2 separate regions of the Homo sapiens genome follow, and region 1 is linked to region 2. The links are contacts of gene promoters, found by promoter capture Hi-C in human tissues and cell types (Jung and others, 2019). All regions are on one chromosome and are shown on one strand. The core of a region is centred on a gene start or on the middle of the fragment in contact, and the rest is flanking DNA. Distances in the headings are between cores, read along the strand shown.

Region 1 (2,700 bases), core at 190-2,689, 1.6 Mb after region 2:
CTAGCAGACAGAAGAGTCCATATGAATCAGCCCCCCAAACACAGACTTGGGGTGGGGAGGCAGAGAGGATCTGTGGGAAGAGCCAAATGGAAGACAGCCAGCCTGTCACATGTCCTTCAGAAGTGGCAGGATGGCCAGGCGTGGTGGCTCAGACCTGTAATCCCAGCACTTTGGGAGGCCAAGGTGGGTGGATCACTTGAGGTCAAGAGATTGAGACCAGCCTGGCCAACATGGTGAAACCCTGTCTCTATTAAAAATTAGCCAGGCATGGTGAAGCAGCCTAATTGGGAGACTTGAAGCAGGAGAATCAGTTGAACCTGGGAGGAGGAGGTTGCAGTGAGCTGAGATTGCACCACTACACTCCAGCCTGGACAACAGAGCAAGATGCTGTCTCAAAAAAAAAAAAAATGGCAGGACAAAAAAATACACATAGAGGAGCCAATATCTAAGGACAAATGAGAGTGCATAGCTTTGTGTAGATGTTAAGAATATGCATTCTGGCCGGGCATGGTGACTCACACGTATAATCCCAGCACTTTGGGAGGCCAAGGCAGGCAGATCACGAGGTCAGGAGATTGAGAAATTCCTGGCTAACATAGTGAAACCCCATCTCTACTAAAAATACAAAAAATTAGCTGGGCATGGTGGCACACACCTGTAGTCCCAGCTACTCGGGAGGCTGAGGCAGAAGAATCGCCTGAACCTGGGAGGTGGAGGTTGCAGTGAGCTGAGATCACGCCACTGTACTCCAGCCTGGGCAACAAAGCAAGACTCCGTCTTGAAAAAAAAAAAGAATATGCATCCTTATACAGTTAATGTGCAAATGTCTACTGTTCTCATTTGCATCACCGACTTTACCTCTTGGGAAAGCTTGCCTCCCCTTGACCCCTTCATGCCCCCTCTCACCCCACCACACCATGTTTTTGTGCTGTTTCCTCTTTGGGAAATGGATGGAACTTTCCATCTTCAAACGGAAATAGCATTAGAGGATCCTACCCCTCCGCCCCTCTGTGTGGGGAGGCAGAGGACAGGTGACAGCTCAGACACTGGCCTCCCCTGGACCTGCCCTCATCAACAGCTTGTCCCTTGTTTCTGTTCCCGATGTCAAGCAGTATCTCAGCAAGGCAGAGCATCCCTGCTCCAGGAAGAGGGCTCTCCTACAGCCAGGAGAGAAATTCTGTTCTGGAGGCTGGGCATGGTGGCTCACGCCTGTGAGCACTCCCAATCTCAGCACTTTGGGAGGCCAGGGTGGATGGATCACTTGAGTGCAGGAGTTTGAGACCAGTCTGGGCCACACAGGGAAACCCCGTGTTTGTATTTTTGTTTCTACAAAAGATTAGCTGGGCAGGTGATGGCACACCTAGCTACTAAAGGGGCTGAGGTGGGAGGATCACCTGAGCCCGGGAGGTCAAGGCTACAGTGAGCCATGACTGTGCCATTGCACTCCAGCCTGGGTGAGAGAGTAAGACTCTGTCTCAAAAAACGAAAAAAGAAAAGAAAAGAGAAAAGAAGTTCAGTTCTGGGAGCGGGGAGGGAAGATTTTGGCCCCAGGTTCCAGTTGCATTCTCCAATTTAGATCTACCAGGAATAAAGCTGAAGCCATTGTCTCTATTTGATCTCAATCCCTTATGCCCTGTATTGAGACTCCCTAGCATGACACCCCATCCTGTGTTTGAGGAATTCCCCATTCTCCAAAACTTGGAGAGAGGCGGAAACTACGCCCCACTGTAGAAGCCCAAAGGGCCAGTTTGTTGCTTCCTCAGCCTCCCTTGCAGCCAGGGAGCAGACGCTGGCCAGCCTCAGCCAACCAGAGGACTCTGACTCGGCAGCTAGTGGCACATGAGGGCAGTGGTGGCAGCAAGATCTGCTTCCAAAGTAGCAGGGGCAGCGCAGTGCAGACTGGAGGGGACGGGGGATCCAGTTGGCAGCAGCAACCGCACTGGCAAAAGTGGTGGCCATGGTGGTGGCAGCAGTGTTCTGGCCACCCCAGTTCTGTGGCCTGATTGTGGGTGCGGCTTGGCTGCATAGTCACAGAGCTCGATTTTCCAGCCCTCTTGGGGATCAGATCCTTTTAGTGAATTCTTTTTCTACTGTAATCAGCCAGACTCCATTTCTGTTCTGTGCAGCTTAGAATGTCTACCCAGACATGTGCACACATGTCCCAAAAGCCAGAACCCTGGAAGAAAGAGTGGGTGACTCCTCCAACCACTCCCCCGAGCAACCACCTCACAGCCTGTGTGTCAGTTAAGAGTGTCTTGATTGTAAAGAAACAAAAACAAAAACAAAATTGCAAACTGATGAGCAATGAAGGGAATGTGTTGGTTCACCTGGGTCTGGTGAGGTGAAGCTGGATCCAGATTCTCACCAAGACACTGACTTTTCCCTACCTGTGTTTTATATCTTTCTTGCTGTCAACTTCATTTCCAGCCCCCTCACACAGGCTCTTGCAATTCCAGGCTCTCTCCTTACAGAAATAAAATGGCTGCAATGGTTCCTGACCTCGCATCCTCCCACACCATCCAACAAAAGGGTGTCTCTTCCAGTAGCTCCCCACAACTCCTGGGGTGTCCAGCTGGTCCCACAGCCTGAAGCAGAGCTGCCCAGTTGAGCCCAGCTTAAACCAGCCAGCCCTTAACTGATCTGCAGACACACAAATGAGAATAGGTAATTACTGTTGTAAGCCACTGAGCCTTGCGGTGG
Region 2 (2,700 bases), core at 47-2,546:
CCGGCGCGGTGGCTCACGCCTGTAATACCAGCACTTTGGTAGGCCGAAGCGGGCGGATCACTTGAGGTCAGGAGTTCAAGACCAGCCTGGCCAACATGGCGAAACCCCGTCTCTACTAAAAATACAAAACAGCCGGGCGTCGTGACGGGCGCCTGTAATTCCACCTAGTCGGGAGGCTGAGGCAGGAGAATCGCTTGAACCCGGGAAGTGGAGGTTGCAGTGAGCCAAGATCGCACCGCTGCACTCCAGCCTGGGTGACAGAGTGAGACTCTATCTCAGTTAAAAACAATAATAATAATAATAATAATAATAATTAAAAAGTTTTAAAAAAGAAAAGCAGTATACCAAAGTCATTCCTTTACCCATACATACATTTACTCTTACTTGGACTCAGGAGTAACAAGGAACTCACCTCCTTTAGAAAACGAAGAAAATGAAATACTGAGTTAAGAAGGGGTTAAGGAGAAAGTATTTGTATTTATTGAGAACCAACTACTTTATCCACTTCAGTAAGCTCAACAACATACTCAGAAACGGGATTCACCTCTGAATTAGCAAAACCGACGATCCTAAAAAGCAATTTGGAGGAGTGGCAATGAAGAGGGACGACCTGACGTTCGCTCCCGCCAGTACCAAACCACTCGGGCCCACCGCCTTCCCCTTCCTCAGAGACCTAAACACACTGAGGCCGCGTTCCGGTAGCCGGTGGCATCTCCTGTCAGACGCCGGCCACTCCGCGCTCCTGTCACCTCCGGTGGAGGCGACCCCATCCCGAGGGCACTGCCGCGGGGGCTCGGCTCCGACTGCGGGAGACCCAGGGATGGGGTGGGGAGCCGAGCCTTCTAAATAAAGCTGTTACAGCTGCGGGTCCTGGGGCAGCCCGAAGGCCAGAAGGGGCGACCCTGGGACAGAGGCCGCGACATCCCTCGGGATCCCCACTGAGGCAACCGGGACAGCATTCGACGACTCGGCTCGCGAGACCCTCGGCGTGACGCCGGGTAGGACCGGGTCGACTGGCAATGGGGGAGGCCCTCCACCGCGACTGGACTGGATACCCGGCGGGGGTCCTGGAGAAAGGAAGGGCCGGCCGGCGGGCGCCCCACAGCCGGAAGGGGCGAGCCCGCAAATAGGGCTCACCTTCAGGTCGTTCTCTGGCAGGTACTTGCACAGCCGCGCTATTTCCACATACTTGTCCAGGTCTAGCGGCGCCATTTTAAGAATAACAAGCCGCGGCAACAGCGGCGGCGGCGGCTGTAGCAGCGGCGGCGGCAGCGGCGGAGGCCGAAGCCGGAACTTTCCCTGCGTCACGTCCGGCCCGTGAGTGGCGCCTGCGCAGCGCCGTTAAAGCGCGACCCGTTTCTCCCCGCTACGTCGGTACGCCCGGCGCCCCCTCTGGCTGAACCCCGACTGCAGGCCCCAAGAGAGCCCGCTTCGGTCCACCCCGCGAAACCTGCTGGGACCCGTAGTCGTCTGCCGCGGGGGTGCTGGGATGTGTAGTTTTCTGTTGTGGACAGCCACCCCTCTCTTTTCCTCCCGTTCCTCCAGACTTTCACCTCCCGGCAGCCGGCGAGGCTTTTCCGAGGCAAAACAGCGGAGTAGGTGGTCCTAGCCACTCACTGGTTTGTTTTTCCAACCCTTTTAAGCACTCTCCAGAATATCTTCACTTAACAATTGGGTAAGCCTGGCCGTAGTAACCGTTTGCACCTTTCCAAGTCCCTGTGAAAACCTCGCCTAAGCCTGTGGCAGAGATGTCAGGCCCCAGTCTTCCAGCCTGAAAGGAAGGGAAACGAATATTATTAAAGCATTTCTGATGCTAAATGCGATACAAATGATATTTTTCCTTTTAATCTTCGTAACGATTGATAGGAAAGTGAGGCTAGGAAACTGCAGTTCACCCCAAATCTCACAGGGAACAAAATGGTGGGGTCAAGATTGAAAAATGGCTTAAGCTTAAGCATGCTTCCAGTGAGAATCCCACGAGGGCAGGGAGTTTTTTGCTGTAACTCCAGCACCGAGAACAGTACCTGGTACTAGCATACCTTCAGCGTTCGTTTATCCAACCACTCTTTGCTGAGCAACAAAGATGTGCCAGGTACAGCTCAAGGCGCTTGCAGTACTTCGTGAACAAAATAGACAAAGATCTCTATTCTATCTGTAGCTACAAAAAGTACCAAAATTAGCCTGGCGCGGTAGTGCGTGCTTGTGGTCCCAGCTACTCTGGAGGCTGAGGCAGGAGAACCGCTTGAGTTGGGAGGCGGAGGTTGCAGTGAGCTGAGATCGCGGCACTGCACTCCAGCTTGGGCGACAGAGCGAGATCCTCCTCAAAAATAAATTAGTAAAAGGAGCTGCTGTATGGGACTAGGGGTGGGGGTGCAATGCCTATAGCTAAGAGACCAGTTAAGAGACTGTTATGTAATCCAATAGTAGCAGGCGCTCAATAAATATTTGTTGCTCAAGAGACCCTGGAATTAATCCTCTTGCTCTCTAAAGTATATTTTGTGGACAATTGGCTAACCCTGAATGAGATATCTGGGTGAACTTCTTTGTATTATTCTTGTAACTCCTCTGAAAGTATGAAATTGTTTCAAAGTAAAATTAATTTTTAGAAGTTTGTTGCAGAATGAATGATGCCCACAAGCATTCATTTCTTCATTCATTAAACTAATAGTTACATAGTGCCTATTGGCCAGGCCGCGGTGG

The links. Contacts are between HindIII fragments. The study calls those that stand out against the background at their distance.
Region 1: a fragment that was not itself captured here is called in contact with the fragment with the promoter of PPP6C in region 2 in 1 of the 25 tissues and cell types used here (dorsolateral prefrontal cortex).

Annotation. Positions count from the first base shown.
Region 1 is chr9:126,791,982-126,794,681 of GRCh38, forward strand. No RefSeq gene overlaps it. Among named protein-coding and RNA genes, the nearest start is that of ZBTB43, 12 kb to the right of the region's middle. RefSeq lists an enhancer at 358-527. The HindIII fragment of the contact is 3,083 bases long and covers 1-2,700 here.
Region 2 is chr9:125,188,507-125,191,206 of GRCh38, forward strand. PPP6C (protein phosphatase 6 catalytic subunit) reads right to left here and starts at 1,297. Exons shown (of 7, transcript NM_002721.5): 1 at 1,138-1,297. The coding sequence starts at 1,212. RefSeq lists enhancers at 619-1,405, 1,406-2,192, 1,495-1,574. The HindIII fragment of the contact is 9,567 bases long and covers 1-2,700 here.